Linked DNA regions of Homo sapiens: all the other regions are linked to region 3. The links are contacts of gene promoters, found by promoter capture Hi-C in blood cells and fetal thymus (Javierre and others, 2016). All regions are on one chromosome and are shown on one strand. Each heading gives the region's core, a stretch centred on a gene start or on the middle of the fragment in contact. The rest is flanking DNA. Distances are from core to core; before and after follow the strand shown.

Region 1 (2,977 bases), core at 303-2,802, 400 kb before region 3:
CACTATATAAATGTTCAAAATTTCTATTGTGGTCCCTCAGCCCATCTTAGGGAACTTCATGGTTAACCCATTAGAGAGTTGTATGGAAACTTAAAAAATCATTTTAAATGCCTTGTGATGGGGAGGGTTGCTGATCTCATGTACTTTATACAGCAGAGGCTACAAATTTGAAGTTTGGCAATAGGTGTGTTTGCCTGACCTCCCCAATGCTTTAAAAGTTTTATGCAAATTATATACCAGTATTTAATAATAAAAATTTCGCTTAAAATATGCATTTTAGCTGTTTGTTAGAAAATCAGGTTTTCTAGAAACTTTTGACCTGAATTCCCACAAAGAAATAATAGGCTGGGATGGAATAGTGATGGCTCCCTGTAGAACACTATTCCTTTTTGGTTAGCAATGATTCCCACTACTGCCCATTTTCCCCCAAAACTGAGGGCAAGTGTCATTTGCTGTTGATAGTCAAGCTTTGTTTTCCCTCCTTTTGGCCTCTCTGCTCATTTGCATTACCTGTCTAGTCCCCAGTAGACAATAGAGTTTGTGAACTCTGCCAAGGGGCTCTGTCACCACTACATCCACCCCTCCCCATATTCTCCCAACCCCAACTGTCTACTTGATTGAAATACTTGCCTTAGGGGCATTTTCTTATTTTCTCTCTGGAACAACCAAATTATTTCCTTTTTAAAGCAGAAAGAGTCAGCTTTAAAGACTGCTCTGTGTTTGATTTGGTCTTTAATGTGTATAGGAAGATGTACATATTTTATGGTTTGTTGATTGTTGGTTTTTCTTTGGGAGGGTAGGTGGCTGTTTTGGGAAGCATCCTCTTTAACAGGGTAGTTATAAGTTTACAGCTTAAGATGTACTCTGTTGGCCTTTGCAATCCCCACAGCTTTTCCTGCATCCTCTAACTTTTAATATGTCTTGATCAATGTATTCAAACACCATTTCCTTTAAAATGTTTTCAACTCTATTCATCTTTATTGGGTTTTTAAAATATTTTATTTCTAAAATTTCTCAAATCTCTTTTAGGCTAGTTGCATTTGGGATGGGCTGGTGATTTAATTTGTATGGGTTCTGGTTTTGCAAGAGAAAAATCAAATGACTAGTGCATGTCTGAAATGCATCAACTATGTAGTATTTATTTTGCCAAGACAATTTACTAGGCTGTGAGAAAAATAAAGATGATCCCTGCCCTCAAATTGTTCCCAGTTTAGTGAAAAAGATACACATATGACATAACTGTAAGAAAAAAAAAAAATATAAGTATTCAGTAATACTAAAAGTAACTTACCTTTGTATGGCTCTCAGTAGTGCACAAAACATCTTTCACATGCGTTACTTGATATAAGCAAGAGCTTTGCAGAAGAGGAATCATTAAAACTGACTGGAAGATTGGGAAAAGCGTCACAGAGAAAATGATACTTAAACTTGGCTTTGAAGAATAGTCTATAGCCTGAACAATGGAGAAAAGGGTTAGAGGTCACATTTCAAGCCAAAAGAATGACATGAGCAATGTCAAAGAGGCACAAAAGGGCAAGGTATGTTTGAGTGTGGCTAGTAGATTAGTATGAATTGATCTTAGAAATAAGGGGACAGTGTTTTAGTAATATTATTGCAAAAATGAGTGGGACTAAGTAATGGACAACTCAGAATGCCATGCTAAGGATTTAAGGACTAAAATGGAAAACTCAGTATTTCTAACAACAGTCTGATTTTATTTTTCTTTGTTGTGGTTTCATAAAAATATCATTTATTGAGTATCTGGCATGACCTTATTTTAATGCAAGCTGATATATGTTCAAATTATTCAGAATTTGTTCAACTGTAAGTGTCATAAAAGTAACTCAGTCTATTTTATGCAATCATAAAATAGATATTTATTGGCTCACAAAACTGAAAAAGCCAACAGAGCTCAGCCATGGCTGAATTCAGGACTCACTCCATGTCATGAATCCCATCTCCTAGGTCTGTTTTGTCTTTCTTTGCTTTACTTTCTGGTGCTATCTCTGCATATGGCAGTCCCCAGCCACAAATTCAATAGAAAAATGTCTCTTTCCTGGAAGTTCCGCCAAAGTCTTCAAAGTTAAGGAAACATTCTGATTGTATTCACTGGCCCAATTAATATTCATGCCTGGGAGTATTAGATAGGTGCTCCAAAAACAATATAGATCCTATTTCCAAATGAGGAGGAGTGGATGCAGAGTTGAAAGGTGAAAAAAAAAATGTTCTTTATAGTGCTCCAGTTTCCTTTCTTAGAAAAGTCTAACTACTGATTGATTGATTGATTTACTTATTTAGGGTTGGAGGTGCAGATTTCATTGACAATCAGAAAGGGCAAGTTTGATTTGTCTTTTCATCCTAAAAGTAGCAACAAGTGTTTGCAAAAGGCTGGCTCTTTGTTCAGTGCAGATTTGTATATGTCCCTCTTGTGTTTTACAAAATAAATGGGCACCTTTAATGTCATCACAATGGGAAATGATTTAACTACAATCACATTGTGTCTGTTGAATTTTCCACTAAATGATCTATATGCCATTGTGAAGCCCCATGCAAACCTTTATTCCACTGTAGATTTTGTGTTGCGTAGTGTTGAGAAATATTTTTAATGGTCTTTTACCCCCTTTACTTTAAAGCTTGCTATAGAAGCTTGAATGTAGGAAAATTCCTCTTCAGCCAGAACTGTAGAGTTGCTAGGGCCCCACCATTGTAACTGACAGCAGAGGTTCAGCAAAGTTAGTTCTGAGGTTTGCATTATCAAATCTACCCAGATTTTCCAATCTACAAAACATCTATTCACGTACATTTAAAAAAAAAACAAAAACAAAAACAAGAGGTTTCCAAATTTGTCAATTGACCTGCTAGACAAGGCATAATATGTTGCCTAAAATAATACCATAAACCGTGAAAAAAGTGGATTTGTCAAATCACCTACAGTTTTTAATGGTTTTCGCCTTCATATGAACATTTCAATTTCAAT
Region 2 (3,294 bases), core at 795-3,294, 510 kb before region 3:
GTTTTAAAAATGGTCAAACATTGGCTATTTCATATGGTAGAAACTAACATCTCCTTCACATTTTATTTATACTAAAAATAAAACTCGTCTAGAATGCACATCACTGGGAAAAATATTAAAGATGAGCTAAGATGAAGTTTTAAAATTAACCACAGATTTCAATGACTTTTATATTTTTATATCACCCAGATATTTAAAAGCTTGGAACCAGACCAATGGTTTTCACCCTCAATGAAGACTGGAATCACCTGTGGGTTTTTAAAACCTGAGTGCCTCTACCCAAACCCCCATAAGCTCTGATTCTGTGAGACTAAGATAAAAGCTTAGGAATATATATTTGTAGAAGGCTGATGCACAGCCAAGGTTGAGAACCATTGATACTACCTGTCCTATGGCTTTCTTTCACATTCATTCAATCTCAGAAAATACTTAACACTTTGGTGATTTTATATACATAAAGTAGTGAAGCACCTGGATTTCAGTTCTTTCCAGAGTTTAGAATGCTTGGCTGTGTATTAGGTCGGAAAATTCTTTTTCCCATGGAAATTATGTCTCACTGAATGGGTCTCTCTCTACTGTACCTAAAAGAGAGGCTTAGGTTTGACTTGTACACAGCTCCATGGACTCAGAATTAAAGTATCAACAAGAGCATTTAATGGTTACACGCAGGTATTTTTTAAAGTACCTATACACATATTATTATTATATATTACCCAGTAGGGGAACTAAGCATGTAATTAGTGACCAGAACAACAGGTGTGCATGTATACACTGAGAAACGAAATTGTTTTGAAAAACATTTTTTTTTTTTTGCTGATGACCAAGACACACAAAAATGTCTAAGTAGTCATCATGGGAAGAATCCGATTTTTGTACTTCCTCATTTTACAGAGATTAACATTATATATGAGTGACTGGGTGGATGTGGTACCAAATACATTTGTAAACTGAAGGCCTTTAAAAGTCAATCCAGTCTTGAGCCAGATTTATTCCCGAGGCTATTCCCTTACCCCTTCCAGCCACAACTGTATCCGTATTTTCACACGCAGGAAAAAATGTTTAGAAACTTAATTTTTACGAGCTGTCGAATTGTATTGCTATCCACGTGATTCCCATTATCATGTCTGCTTATAGCATCCCCAGCACCTACAGCTAGGACATAGGTTCAGAAGTTGAAGGAACCTGATTCTCAGGCACTGTTAATTATTAGGCCCTATCACAGGCTGTCAACAGGCTCCAAGTCTAGGCAAATTGAAAGCCTCCTATCCTGGAAGCCAGACAGGCTTTCATCTGACCTCCTCCGGTGCAATCCTGGCTCCCAGACTTTGTTCCTAACAACCCCTTGGGGACGTTGCCTATTGGGGTTTAAGCCACTCCTCCTCCCCTACACCCCCATGCCAAGTATTTAGCCACCTGAACCACCCTGTAGGATAAGACAACTGTATCAACCGTCGGAATTCCCCCACAAAACCCATACATCTCAGGGTGCGAAGGAACAAGTTTCAACCTCACCCTGGGCAGCGTTCTCTGGCCCAGGTGGAGAACCACACAGGAGGACAGTGGTCCTGCTCTCCCTACTAAATGGTGGTTCAGGAGGCCAGGGGGCGGGGCGGTACCGGCGGCAGAGGCCCACGGACGAGCTCGCAGGAGCTCATCACACAGCTGACCGTCACCTGCCCACCTCACCACACCTGCTAGGTGCCAAACCCCTTGTAATGGACAGGGAAGGGCTCAATCACGGGTCCCTACTCTTAGCAGCGAACCTATCTCAGCGCACGGCCTCCTGGGAGATGTAGTCCAGACCGCTTCCCGGGAACCCCCCCCCCCTCCCCCCCCGCCCCGCCACAACCAGGCATCCCTGGTCCCCTCACAACTTCCCCAGGAGAGATTGCTCGGCCTGGCCAGCTGAAGCTGGAGTTGCTCTCCAAGTGTCGGGGCCAGGCGGCACTCCGCGGAGGAGTCGGGGTGCTCTCCCCAGTCCGAGCGAAGGGAGGGAACTACACTTCCCAGGACGCCCTGCGCGCGCCGAGCCGGGAGCCGGCTGCCTCGCTTTGCGTGACCGCGGCAGGTTGGTCCTGGAGCAGATAAGCGCAGAATATTTAGGCGAAAGCGAGAGGAAGGGGGGAGCGCGGGGCAGGAGGAGTACCTCGGCCAAGAAAATTATGCATGCGTTAGGGAAGCTCTGAGAGAATGGCTGTGGAAGGTAAGGGACGCTTGGGGCATTTTTAAGCTCCCTCTTAACCCGCGCACCCCAAGGCACACATCCCCGATGAAGCTTGGCGATCGTGGGGAGGCGAGGAAAGGGGGTGGCGGAGAGCGGGCCCCTTCCTCCTCCACCTCTTGGCACTCACCTGCGCCGCCAAGGCCAGTAGGCGCTTTAATTCAGTTGCTTTGGAGAGACGTGAAGGGTAGGTGCGTAGGACTTTGAGGTAGGAGGTGTGGAGACGAGTGTCCCTGATGCGAAACGATATCCTGGAAATGGGGGGAAAGCCGGAGGATCCGGCATGAGGTTTTGGCCCCGAGATGCCCTTTTTCCCTGCCCCCTCCCTCCGGAGCAGGCTGGGTGGCCCCGGGGCTGGGGATGCTTGGTTGGCCCCCCTCACGTGGGAGAGGTCCCCAGCCCAGGTGCGTCATCCGGAAGCTTGGACTGGGATTGGGTCGAGGGCCCTTCGTCCTATGCACCCAGCAGCGGCGGCCGCAGATGTACCCAGAGGGTAGAGGTGTCCCTACACCTGTCTCTGCTTATACAGCCAGCGCCCCGGGCTTAGCAAAGTTTACAGACATGAAATGTAATCAGCCAGGGAAAAGAAGTGCAACAACCTCTTCGATTTGGGTGAATCCTTTTCTTTGAAGATCACTTTCTTCTTACAGTCTTGAGCTTCGGCTTTGCAGTTTTGACCGTAAAGTCCTGCCTCCCTTGAACTTCCTGGTTGAAAGCAGGGTCAGGCTGTTCGTGAGGGATCCTGAGTTTTTCATTTCAGGTTATCTTACCTTGGAACACAAACTTCCTTGTTTAGGTAGTTTCTGAAGAAGAAAAAAAAACTGTGGACCGGAAGGGTTTGTGATGTCACATTAGAGGTCAAGCTGTGCCTGAATGATGAAATGATTGTGGGACGAAATGGGAGCCTACATTCACCTGCAGAATTTTGGTTTCTGAGTGCAGTCAGGTCAGAGGGCGTACTGAAGTAGGAAGAGGAGGGCTTGCCTGCCAGCTGCTTCAGGCGCCTTGCCAAGGGGAAATCAGCCTATTCCTTGTAGGCTAGAGACGAGAAGGCCACGAGGCTGGCTTGCTGC
Region 3 (3,158 bases), core at 566-3,065:
TCCAGTCCCACAGCCCCACTTCACAGGGCTGAGATAATCTGCACCCTGATCAGAAGAGAAGGCCTCCTGCCTTGAACTGTTGTTCTTAGCAACTTGGGCTGGGGGGAGCTTTGGGTCACATGTGGTTTCAATCACTGCCTTTATCTGCATCATTGTCACTGTATTTGGAAGATGACTGAATCCTTATTCCTGTCCCAGGCCTCTCTACATTGTGCAGGGGGTTCAAGTCAAATCTGGAAAAGCTGTCTCATCTTTGGCAGGTCAGAAATAGGGAGAGGCTTCACGAATGTATAGTAATGTCCCACCCATGCCCCTTCCCTGCTTTATTAAAACAAATCTGAAACAACAGAGGTCTGAAACTTTCCACTCTATCATTTCATACTGCCTTGTTATAACCCTGCCCTTCATCCACACCCCGCTGGGGTTTTTGCAGCCTGAGGGAAGCCGGGAAGTGTCTGCTCCTAGCTCTCAGTCACTCCCATAATAAACAATCACTAAACAGCCGGCTGCCCTAGGCAACTGTCTAGCTTGCCCGAGCCCTGAGACTTTAGCTAGGCCAGAGGGTGGGAGGTGTTTTCTGTAAAGCAGTGTTCAGGATCTGAGGCCAGGGAGTTTGACTTTGACCAGAGATACTGTTTGGGAGCCTAGCACATCTTTGTGGACCTGGAGGATCTTTAGCGGGACTGCTCCTCGGTTACCTGAGTTATCTAATGAAGTTCTTCCACTGGGAGTGGCAGGAGCTTGGGCCAAGGAGTGGGAGGTCAGTGAGGGAAGGACCAACTATTTGGCACTAATTGTACATAAGGTAGTTTTCCTGATGCAAGTGTTCCTTCTATAGCTGGGACAGTTGGCAATTCTACCAGTCATATGTCCTTAAGAGATATCTTTAACACCACCACCACCACCACCACCACCAAGAGAATAACATCACTTTGAGGACTGGGGCAAGCTTAAATTAACTGGTTTCCCTGCAGCCATTAGAAAATTTATTTTTTCTCTGTGATTGGATCTCTTGGAAGCTTTCTTCATAATAGACAGAGGGGGCTCAGGCAAGGCGGCCTAAGTAGATAATGAGGATTTAGGATAGCCGTCTTACACTCTTAGCACAGAGGCAGGCATGAAGAATTGCAACAATTCCTCTTGATTGTAATAATTCCTCTTTATTGTTGGGCATTGGGGTGTTTCTTTGGTTTAAAAAAATGTGCTATGTAGAGGAGGAGTAAGGGGAGATTGTTTTAATGCTTAGCAGAAAATTGAAATACTGGGTCTCGGAGAGTGGAAGGAGGGCTGGGAGAGGCAGCTTTCGGATCGGCGGTCGCTTTCTATGAAGTCTTCCTTTCCTCCCTGCTTCCCTCCTTCAAAGCATCTTTCTCTAGGCGTTCCGGCAGGCAGCCCAGGAGGCCAGATTCTCCAGGGCGCCCGGGGCCGCGCGGCACGGGGCCCCTGCCGGTGCCTCCTTCCCCGGCCGCCGCGTTTCCGCAGGCGCCTCTGGTCCCCGGCACGGCGCAGGCCGAGATCCGGGCCTGGGCGCGCCGAGGGGCCGCGGGGCTCGCACCGGGCCGTCCCGCGCTCCACCTGCCCGGCAGCCCGCCGGCAGCTTGCAACCCGGGAGCCCCGGCTCCCTGCGCCCCCTACGCCCCCAACGCCGCGCCGGCGCCTCGGCCCGCGGCCGGGGGTTATGAATGGGCGCAGCGGAAGCACCGCCCCCCCCGGACGTGACGCTCGGCCAATGGCAGCGCGGGCTGCGTGGATGGATGAGGTCAGCGCTGTCGTGTCGGGAATGGAATGTGTAAGTGTAACATTCAGAACCGGGTAACATTCGGCGACCGAACGCGGCGGTCGGCAGCGTTCGCGCGGGGGCCTGCGAAGCGCTGCTCGGGGCCGGCACTGCCCGCGGGGAGGACGCGCCGCCGCCGCCACCCAGCGCCGCCGCCGCCGCCGCCTCCAGCCGGGCCGCCGCGCGTCCCGGGGGCCGGCCCCGCGAGCGCAGGAGTAAACACCGCCGGAGTCTTGGAGCCGCTGCAGAAGGGAATAAAGAGAGATGCAGGGATTTGTGAGGTTACGGCGCCCCAGCTGCAAGATGCACTAGCCGGCTGAACCCGGGATCGGCTGACTTGTTGGAACCGGAGTGCTCTGCACGGAGAGTGGTGGATGAGTTGAAGTTGCCTTCCCGGGGCTCATTTTCCACGCTGCCGAGAGGAATCCGAGAGGCAAGGCAATCACTTCGTCTTGCCATTGATTGGGTATCGGGAGCTTTTTTTTTCTCCCCTCTCTCTTTCTTTTCCTCCGTCTTGTTGCATGCAAGAAAATTACAGTCCGCTGCTCGCCCGCCCTGGGTGCGAGATATTCAGCCCCGCTCTCTCCCGTGCATTGTGCAACCCAAAGATGAAAGACCGAAGGGGAGAAAGTTAAAGAAATCGCCCACATGCGCTGGATCAGTCCACGGCTTGGGGAAAGGCATCCAGAGAAGGTGGGAGCGGAGAGTTTGAAGTCTTTACAGGCGGGAAGATGGCGGACTGGAGCTGAAAGTGTTGATTGGGAAACTTGGGTGATTCTTGTGTTTATTTACAATCCTCTTGACCCAGGCAGGACACATGCAGGCCAAAAAACGCTATTTCATCCTGCTCTCAGCTGGCTCTTGTCTCGCCCTTTTGTTTTATTTCGGAGGCTTGCAGTTTAGGGCATCGAGGAGCCACAGCCGGAGAGAAGAACACAGCGGTAGGAATGGCTTGCACCACCCCAGTCCGGATCATTTCTGGCCCCGCTTCCCGGACGCTCTGCGCCCCTTCGTTCCTTGGGATCAATTGGAAAACGAGGATTCCAGCGTGCACATTTCCCCCCGGCAGAAGCGAGATGCCAACTCCAGCATCTACAAAGGCAAGAAGTGCCGCATGGAGTCCTGCTTCGATTTCACCCTTTGCAAGAAAAACGGCTTCAAAGTCTACGTATACCCACAGCAAAAAGGGGAGAAAATCGCCGAAAGTTACCAAAACATTCTAGCGGCCATCGAGGGCTCCAGGTTCTACACCTCGGACCCCAGCCAGGCGTGCCTCTTTGTCCTGAGTCTGGATACTTTAGACAGAGACCAGTTGTCACCTCAGTATGTGCACAATTTGAGATCCAAAGTGCAGAGTCTCCACTTGTGGAACAATGGTAGG
Region 4 (3,235 bases), core at 290-2,789, 330 kb before region 3:
GAGAAAAAGAACTGGGGCAAATGTTTTTTTAATGTTTGCCATTGGGCAGGATGTTTTTTTCTTATGAGCTTACTGTTTCTAGTAAAGGTGAAATGCTTTATTTCTTTGCTTTATGGACTATTATTATTTAGGCTTAGGCCCCTACTGCGGGAAGAAAAAACCCAGCAGCATATCAGAGAAAGTCATCCTCTAGGGATGGCTGTGAAGAGAGTGTAGGTGTTGGATGTTGAGGAAAGGAGACGAGGCGGTCGAAGGCATTGACAGCTCTGCCTCTCTTTTCCTGCCTTCAGTGGGAAAATATGTTGAATTCAAGTGATAAGGTTTAACATGTACTTCTTGTTGTTCTAATTGTACGTGGAAGTGAAGTGTAAGCTCTTTAAAGGAATCAGGTTATGCCATTCACTCCCAACATTTGGTAGCTGTTGGGGATGGAGGAAATGTTGATGGAAGGGGGAGTAACTGAGATTGACCCTGGATGCTACAAAAAGAGAAGTTCAGGCAGAACAAATCAAAGTCAGCTCTGAGAATCCCAAAAGAAGCAGCAGACTGGGGTAACTGGAGTCATTACAGCTCTTAAAGTGTGGCAAACTAATAGTAATTTCATTAAAATGCCAAGGCTGAGAATCACCTGATAAATGGTATCAATACTTTTATTACCATCTGATTAAGAAGAGACAAACAGTAGGAATCTTTATTACCCTCATTTTACTTATTATGTCTGTTTACATGGAGGCATTTTTGTAGGCTCATACCATCTTAATTTTTTTTTTTGAGACAGTGTTTTTTATTTTTTGAGACAGTGTTGCTCTGTCACCCAGGCTGGTGTACAATGGCACGATCTCTGCTCAAGGCAATCTCCACCTCCCAGGTTCAAGCGATCCTCCTGTCTCCCGCGTAGCTGGGATTACAGGTGCATGCCACCATGCCCAGCTAATTTTTGTATTTTTAGTAGAGATGGGGTTTCACCATGTTGGCCAGGCTGGTCTTGAACTCCTGACCTCAGGTGATCTGCCTGCCTCAGCCTCCCAAAGTGCTGAGATTACAGGCATGAGCTACTGTGCCCAGCCTCATACAGTCTTAAAAATCTATGCCTAAAGTTTTGAGTATATGCTCTTACTAGTATATGCCTAGTAAGAGTATATGCTGAAGAATAAAGCAAAGCAACTCCTTGAGTGTTAACCTCAGAATCTCTGAATTTATGATAAAAGGAAAACTTAGAACAAAAGCATACATGGTGGGCTGGTGAGGATGCATTCTGAGTCAACTTAGTGTGTTTGGGTAAATCTCCACCTGAAGCCCAGCTGAGGCTGAGCGTCCTCCCTTTCCCAGGATATGAGCAAGTTAAAGAATGTTCTTCCAAGAAGGAAAAAGTTTAATATATTGATGTATAAGCAACTTTATCTTTCTGCCTTTCCCTTCCTAATTTACGCCTCTGTGACTGGTTTACAGGAGTTTTCAAAAGATGTGATTAGCTTTACTTGCAAGAGTTTCAGGGTAATGATGTGTCAGCTATAAACTCATTCAGCTAATCCGAAGGAACATTTGTAGAGCAGGAAAGAACTAGATTCAGAGGTGCTGACTTGTGAAACATGGTGGTAAGTGATTTCTAGCTAAAAGATCTAAAATTCTAGCTTCCTAGTTGTGCAAAGGAAAGGAGGTGATGATGAGCAAAGAGAAAAAGAAACCTAAACATCATCAACAATAAAAACATTTATTCATTTATACCCTCCATGCCCAACGTCTTCCTCTCTCATCAAAATTAGGCAAAGTCAATATGGTTTCCCACAGATGTTAGAGGGAAAATGGCTGCAGCCCATTACCCCAGTATGAAGGGCTGCAGGCATGTTTGATTAGGAGCCATGTAGGCATAACACACAGCAGGGTAGAGAAGCAAGGGCTGAACGTGAAAGTCACTGCTGATTAAATAGCAAGCTATGTCTGTGAATGCTGTTTCATTTCATTAATTCATTCACTTAATCCTTGTGGATGTACACGGGATCTACTGAAAACAAGACACTCTGGGGAACACAAAATTATAACAGATCTCACCCTCCCATCTTCACCATGTATTCCACTTACTAGGATTGCAAAACAATTTACCCTAAAACTTAGTGGTATTAGACAACTGTTTATGATGCTCATGGATTATGTGGGTCAAGGATTCACTCAGGGCACTGCAAAGATGGCTTGACTCTCTATTGTGGTATCTGGGGGCCTTGGCTGGAAGATTTGAAGGCTGGTGGCTGGAATCATCTGAGGCTTGTTCATTCATTTGTCTGGTGGTTGGTGATGACTGTCAACTGAGACCTTAGCTGGCAAATTGACCAAAATTCCTACACATGGTCTCTCCATGTGACCTGGGCTTCCTCACAACATGGTGGTTGGTTTCCAAAGGTCAGTGCCAGAGAGTGAATCAGGCAGAAGCTGTTTCTTTTTTATGACCTAACCTCAGAAGTCACATAGCATTAATTCCACTGTACTACATTGGTCAGGAAGGTCACATAACCCTGCTGAAATGGAGTAGGAGGGAGCATCAACCCCACATATTAGTGGAAGAAATGTCAGTCCCATTGAATGAAAAGCAGATACATATGTATGTATATATGTCTATATGAAAACATACATATATGAATATATGGACATATATAAAATCATCTTTGGAAAACACCATCTACCACAATTAATAAAAGAAAAATATCACAGTACAAAATAAAAAGTGATCAGCATTGTGATTATTTTGAAAGCAATGGCCCAAGGACTCATATGACTGGAAATATACGAATAAAAAAAAAACACCTGAGCATTGTGCTTTCCAACCTTGAATCGCTTCCGTATTACTTCCACTGTTTTCACTATGACTCTCTCACCATCTGCACCATTGTTTCTTTATTTTTTTATTAAAAATTGGCCCAAGGGATAGTTGTGTCTTTAAACTCAAATTTGTTTAAAAAACAAAGAAGATATTGCCACAGAAAATAAAATTTATTTTGCCATAATTATTTGCCATAAAATAAAGGGTAACTTTAAATACACTAAAAAGTTTTTAAAAGTTATTAGATGCTAGATATACTACCTTTTTTTAAGATTCTGAGACTGAAGCAAGCCCTTTCTTTGTCAAGGAAACAACAACAACAACAACACACATGTCAGCAGGTGTTACAATCACACTCCTACCAAATGAAGGCTCTCCTTTTGCCTTAATCTGAAAGATTTGATAGAGAAGTGGAAGGAAATT
Region 5 (2,929 bases), core at 274-2,773, 280 kb before region 3:
ACCACTGCACTCCAACCTGGGTGACAGAGCGAGACCCAGTCTCATTAATTAATTAATTAATTTGCAAGTCCCATTTTCCTCATTTTTAAAATGGGGATAATAGTTGAACCTACCCAGAGGGTTGTCACAAAGATTAAGGAATGAGAAATTGTTCATAGTTATACCCAGCCCAGCATAATTCGAATGAATTGTGATGATAATGTTTTTATTATAATACTGATGATGTGAAAGGTTTATGGTTCAATTTCAATGTAATTTCTTTACCTATGTGGGGTCAAACAAAAGATATCTACCCTAGGAGAAAAACTCAGTTATCGAGTGACCTAGACACGCTAGACTCTTCACTGTTCCACAATCTGTAGACTTGGGGTTTCTGTGCTTCAAGGACCTTATATTGCAAGGTGTGTTCTAGTGACTCCACCTTGCCAGATTTATCAGCACTCAACAGACAACCAGTTGCTTTTTCCTGAACCATACTTCTCTGGGATCTCATTCTCCCAGATTTTTTTCCATGTCTCTTGTCGCCCCTTGGGAGTGTCCTTGTTGGTTCATCTCACTGATCTACCCACTCAGGACCTCAGTTCCTCGAGGGATGTCAGTCCTAAGACCTGTGATCACACTTGCTTTCTTCTTGCCTGTGGGTTTGTATGTCAGTTCTAATGATGGTGGCTCCCAAGCTAAAACCTCAAACCAGACTTCTCCTTGGAGCTCCAGCCTGTATAGCAACATGCCCACTTTGTATTTCTATTGAATATCTCATAGATGTGGGCAGTTTGGATTTATTACATGTCCAAACCACAAGTATTGTTCTTTTTCCTCGTCCTTGCTCACTCAATCTTCCCCATGGTAGCAGTTGCACTTTCTTTTATTGCCCAAGCCAGAAACATGTGTCTCACCCTTGGCAACTTCTGTCTTGCTTCAGATACCTCATTTCTCACCAAGTCCTTTAGATTCTGCATGCAAAATTTCCCCTCTCTGAGTATCTTCCTGTTACCACCTCTCTAGTAGAAACCACCATAAACTATGGGCTCAACAGAAGCTCTAGGTTCCGAACTGGTTTCTGTACTTTAAAAATCACCTCGGTTATCAACTGGCACATGATAAGTCATTAATGGTTTATTAAATGAATGCTGAACTAAACAGGCGCAGCCTTCCTAAGTAGAAGTAGCATGGTTCTTGTCTTTGCTCTGACAATTACTAGTCTTACGACTTTGGACAAATCTCTTCACTTTTCTGGGCCCATTTCTTAACTTTAAAATGAGGATGATAGTATTCTCCCTTTCTCATAGAGCCATTTATTCACTCAGGAAAACTTTAATGAATATCTACCAATTGCTGAGTGCTGCAGTTACTGAGATAAATACAACCCATGCTTTCTTCATAGAGAGCCCAGAGTTTAGAAGGAAGAACAGGCATGTGAACATATTCATGATTATATTATAATCGAGTAGGTGTAACAATGGAAGCCTACACAAGGTACACCTTTATGTAATGTTTAATTTGAAATGAAGGCATTGAGTCAGGTATTATACCAGACACTTTCTAATTTACTGCCTAATTTAACTTTCACATAGAAAACTCAGAGTGATTAAAATGATAATTATCATTTTACAGATGAGGAAACTGACTCAGTGGCATTAAATAAGTTACTCAAGCTCACAGAGCTTGCATGTGGAGACACCAACCTGCAAACCCAGGCTTTTTACTCCAAGTTCAGGTCTCTTTACTCACACGAAACAATACATAATTAAAATATAAGTTATTGAACACCTTATTGCTGGAAGAAGAATGAATGGACACTGAACTGAAGCATTTTATAACCAAATCTAAATCAGAAGAGAAAATTATACAAAAAAACTCACTTTTTTCTTCAACTTTCTCTTTTTTTCTAACTTTTTCTGGGTCTATTTTTTTTTTTTTTGAGATGGAGTCTTGCTCTTGCGATCTTACTCACTGCAAGCTCCGCCTCCTGGGTTCACCCCATTCTCCTGCCTCAGCCTCCCGAGTAGCTGGGACTACAGGCGCCCGCCACCACGCCCGGCTAATTTTTTGTATTTTTAGTAGAGATGGGGTTTCACCGTGTTAGCCGGGATGGTCTCAATCTCCAGACCTCATGATCCACCCACCTCGGCCTCCCAAAGTGCTAGGATTACAGGCATGAGCCACCGCTTCTGAGTCTATTTTTATGATTCTGATAAATTATAGAAAGAGTCTTATTGATTATAGTATGTACTTATTGGTACCCACAGCGAACAAAGTGTTACTTAAAACAATGGCTTGAACTCTTTGAGGTTGGAGAACCTTGTACATGACATTTTGGTCCCTGAACACTGGCCTCAGGGTGTTTGCTAAAGAAAACCCAAGTGAACATTGCTTTTACTTTCTTTCTAAATAATTCATGAAATTTTTAGTGGCATCTTGGAGTCTTAAGAGACAGCTCAATTTGAGAATCACTCTACGTATCTGAGATACACGTTCTGTAATAATAGAATTATGAAAAGGGAAAGAAGGACATCTAAGTGGCCTGGGCCTTCAAGCATAAGTCGTGAGTGAGCAGTGAATGAGGGAGTGTGGTACATAGGCTTTGGCATTCATGCGAGTGTTTGTAAATATAAATTGGCATGGATGTACCATACATTTCACCTGAGGGTATAAAGGGTCACATTGCTGACTCACCTGTAGCTAGCCCTCAGCTTTTGAACCCATTATCATCCATTGCTAATTTATATTATGTGCCAGGAACTGTGCTAAGTGCTTTTCTCTGTATTAATTAATTTAATCTTCATAAATATTCCTATACTGTTAACATACCCACTGATGAGATGGGAAAACGGAGACTTAAAGCAGGGTAAGCAACTTACTGGGTAGTGTGTCATGGTGGTGATTTGCACCCAAGCAGACTCCACAGAGCATCCCCTTAAGCGTCGTA
Region 6 (3,063 bases), core at 325-2,824, 270 kb before region 3:
GCTGAGACTTACTGACAAAAAGCTCGAGCGAATGGGGATTGCCCAGGAGAACCTCCGGCAGCACATCTTACAACAGGTGCTCCAGCTGAAGGTGCGAGAAGAAGTCAGAAATCTACAGTTACTCACACAAGGTACCCTATTGCTTCCTGATGGGTGGATGGATGGGGAGATTAGAAGAAAGACCACCTTACTATTAGGACAGACAGGAGTCAGGGAGAATTTGTTATTGTTTCTTCACAGAATTTCCATCATAGAAAATAGTATACAGATTTAAGATTACTTCCCTTTGAAAACTTTTTTCATAGCTCACTAGGGAGAAGGATGCACAAATAAGTAATGGATGAGCAAACAGAATTACCTGAGCTAACTTCAAGGTGGTCACGTACAGTTGTATGGATTGTGTACTGCACAACCCCAGAGAATACCAGTCACATCAATCAGGGTACGATTGCACTCACTAGAGTTGTATAATGTGCAGCCTGCACAACTGTACAGTCCAGCTGTAGCTATCTTCACCTGCGCCAATTGTGAGGGCGCTTTAGCATTTGAGTGATTCAATAGTTACGATGACCAGTGATATAAGTGGAGTTTTTGTTGTATTTTTGTTTTGCTTTTCACCGGTTAGTGGGAGAAAAACATTTTAGATATGTATTACTATACATGAATGTATTATACACACACACTTTAGAGATTGTAAGAACCCCATTTAGCTTCTTGAAAGTGGAATAATTTTTATAATAGACTATAGTGAATCTAAAACTACACTGTTAAGAGTATATAATTCTTAACAGGAATTATAAATAACTTCAATATGATGAGAGCACTTAAGATCTCAATAACTGTGGAAGTGACAAAATAAAGCTAGAATTCGAAGAAAGCCTTAAGTTACACTATATGTAACTGATATGTCTACATGAGATTTGGATGCTATCAACCTTCATTGGCTATAAACTTTATTTGTTTTATTTTAGCGTCCATTGTACATCGTTTTAAATGAAAGGATGATAAAATATGTGTTTTTGAGAGCCTTGAGTATTTGTCATTCTGCAGAATATTGTAATTGCATGCATACCGATATTGGAGAAATCTGGGTCAGCCAAGTTTCATGTTATTGCATTTAGATTAACCTAGTAATAGTCCATTTGCCTAGAGGAAATAATGTGCTCCCTGAAAGATGACTATTCTAGAAGGATAAATATAGATTTCAAGTGATCGTAAAATAGTATTGTTTGTCTCATATGCATTATTTGCATTTTGTCCTCAGAGATTTCCAATGGTGAATTTACTGGTATACTAAGTGATTTAAATTTGAATGTGAAATACTGATAGGCTTTTAAGCTTCTTTTAAGAAGTAGATAGAAATACGAAGATTATGATAAGAAAGTCTGTCACAGTGCTATTTGGAAAACGGAAAATTTACAAGCAACCTAGAGGTCCAGCAATGTGAAAAGAATCAAGTAATTCTGCTTAAATTCATAAGATTCAGTATAATGCCCAGTTATTAAAATTACATCTTTAAAGAATACATGACAACATGGGAAATTACGTAAGTCATACAAGGTGGGAGGAAAGGTCATGTGTAAAATTGTATGCATAATATAAGCCCAATTTTGTAAAAACCATATATTCTTATATGTACAGAAAAAAAGGACTGCAAGTAAATATGCCAACCATTTTAATAAAGGATCTCTCTGGATTGTGGGATAAGTGGGTGACTTAAATTCTTATTTTTCTGTATTTTCCAAATCTTCTGCAAATTCATATTACAATTATAATCAGAAAATACACATATGCATTTTTTTAAGCTTCAACCACAAGCATAGCTGCCCAGCTTCTGTTTAGTGTCTGGTTTTTGCAGCTCATTCTTTTTCCCTCTGGTGATGATCTATATAGAATGAGACCTAAACTCACATGTGACGCATTATGTGTGCCTTTGACTCTTTTCCTCTACTAATGTCAGCCTGCAGTGTGTTTGCTTTGGAGAATCATTTTCTACAGCTCTCATTGCCCTAGATGCATAATATATAAGATTTTTCCTAAGATAGTACTCAGGTCTATTAAGCTAAATATACATACGTGTTCTGGGAAGATAATGCCCAGTTCAGTCCTTTGAATTCAGTTGTTGTTGTCACTTTCTTGAGCTTTGAAAAGCTGTACATTTTTAATTCTTTCATTCAGTTCCCTTTGGAAGGCCGCATTGTTCTCTAGCTCTTGGGTATTTTGTCTGTGCTGATATTACCTTTTTTATTGCTTGTTCTTTACATAGGTTTTTGGTTTTGGTTTTGGTTTTTTCAAGACAGAGTCTCACTCTGTTGCCCCAGCTGGAGTGCAGTGGCGCAATCTTGGCTCACTGCAACCTCCACCTCCGAGATTGAAGTGATTCTCCTGTCTCAGCCTCCCAAGTAGCTGGGATTACAGGCATGCACCACCACACCAGGCTAATTTTTTGTATTTTTAGTAGAGATGAGGTTTTTCTATGTTGGCCGGGTTGGTCTCGAAATCCTGGACTCAAGTGATCTGCTCACCTTGGCCTCCCAAAGTGCTGGGATTACAGGCGTGAGCCGGTTCTTCACATGTTAATGCTCAAACTCATGTTATGTCAGGCATCCTTCAGAAAATACATAGCCTTATTGAAGTAATAGTTTCTTTTTTAAAAAAAAAAGGAAACAAAATTGATAAGTTGTTTTTATGTTTTATGATTAATAGTAGAAGTTGTAAAGACAGATTAGCGTTAAAATATTTTGGGTCTAGGTTTGCTATAATAAAAATATTAGAATTTCATTCCACTCAGGTGAACTTATTAGTTTAAAATATATATCATATAGAAATTCACCATAGGGGTAACAGATGTTTCAGTAATGAATATTTGATTCTTCATCTCTGTAAATATTACTCAGCAGAAACAATATGCTGAATAAGTACAAACAAAGACTTTGGAATGTTTTTGGAAATCCTTGGGCTTCCCTCTTAAAGAGGGTGAATCACAGTTCTTATCCATAGAGATGGAGTATCCTTCCATGGCTCACGTGGGGCTGTCACTCTGGTGTAATGCATTTAATTGTT

The links. The method cuts DNA at HindIII sites, captures the fragments that hold promoters and counts their contacts. A CHiCAGO score of 5 or more calls a contact.
Region 1: a fragment that was not itself captured here is called in contact with the fragment with the promoter of EXT1 in region 3 in 1 of 17 cell types (endothelial precursors); the score reaches 5.1 in endothelial precursors.
Region 2: a contact is called between the fragment with the promoter of SAMD12 here and the fragment with the promoter of EXT1 in region 3, in 4 of 17 cell types (naive CD4 T cells, naive CD8 T cells, non-activated CD4 T cells and 1 more). The highest score is 8.6, in naive CD4 T cells.
Region 4: a contact is called between a fragment that was not itself captured here and the fragment with the promoter of EXT1 in region 3, in 1 of 17 cell types (endothelial precursors). The highest score is 7.9, in endothelial precursors.
Region 5: a fragment that was not itself captured here is called in contact with the fragment with the promoter of EXT1 in region 3 in 3 of 17 cell types (M0 macrophages, endothelial precursors and M1 macrophages); the score reaches 6.2 in M0 macrophages.
Region 6: a contact is called between a fragment that was not itself captured here and the fragment with the promoter of EXT1 in region 3, in 1 of 17 cell types (endothelial precursors). The highest score is 5.3, in endothelial precursors.

Annotation. Positions count from the first base shown.
Region 1 is chr8:118,511,291-118,514,267 of GRCh38, reverse strand. The region is part of intron 2 of SAMD12 (sterile alpha motif domain containing 12); the gene reads left to right. Among named protein-coding and RNA genes, the nearest start is that of SAMD12-AS1, 110 kb to the left of the region's middle. The HindIII fragment of the contact is 2,166 bases long and covers 470-2,635 here.
Region 2 is chr8:118,620,713-118,624,006 of GRCh38, reverse strand. It overlaps SAMD12 (sterile alpha motif domain containing 12), which reads left to right and starts at 2,044. Exons shown (of 4, transcript NM_207506.3): 1 at 2,044-2,203. The coding sequence starts at 2,191. SAMD12-AS1 (SAMD12 antisense RNA 1) reads right to left here and starts at 3,006. Exons shown (of 5, transcript NR_038210.1): 1 at 2,821-3,006; 2 at 2,352-2,472. RefSeq lists a silencer at 1,702-1,851 and enhancers at 1,952-2,151, 2,762-2,971, 3,002-3,051. The HindIII fragment of the contact is 1,953 bases long and covers 325-2,277 here.
Region 3 is chr8:118,110,483-118,113,640 of GRCh38, reverse strand. It overlaps EXT1 (exostosin glycosyltransferase 1), which reads left to right and starts at 1,815. Exons shown (of 11, transcript NM_000127.3): 1 at 1,815-3,158. The coding sequence starts at 2,595. RefSeq lists silencers at 1,393-1,772, 1,873-1,962. The HindIII fragment of the contact is 5,337 bases long and covers 1,022-3,158 here.
Region 4 is chr8:118,441,014-118,444,248 of GRCh38, reverse strand. All of the region lies in intron 2 of SAMD12 (sterile alpha motif domain containing 12), which reads left to right. Among named protein-coding and RNA genes, the nearest start is that of SAMD12-AS1, 180 kb to the left of the region's middle. The HindIII fragment of the contact is 3,938 bases long and covers 1-3,235 here.
Region 5 is chr8:118,394,925-118,397,853 of GRCh38, reverse strand. All of the region lies in intron 3 of SAMD12 (sterile alpha motif domain containing 12), which reads left to right. It overlaps LOC105375724 (a long non-coding RNA gene), which reads right to left. Exons shown (of 7, transcript XR_001746062.2): 5 at 2,862-2,929. Among named protein-coding and RNA genes, the nearest start is that of SAMD12-AS1, 220 kb to the left of the region's middle. The HindIII fragment of the contact is 4,339 bases long and covers 1-2,929 here.
Region 6 is chr8:118,376,628-118,379,690 of GRCh38, reverse strand. SAMD12 (sterile alpha motif domain containing 12) reads left to right here. Exons shown (of 4, transcript NM_207506.3): 4 at 1-1,707. The coding sequence ends at 274. All of the region lies in intron 4 of LOC105375724 (a long non-coding RNA gene), which reads right to left. Among named protein-coding and RNA genes, the nearest start is that of SAMD12-AS1, 240 kb to the left of the region's middle. The HindIII fragment of the contact is 467 bases long and covers 1,341-1,807 here.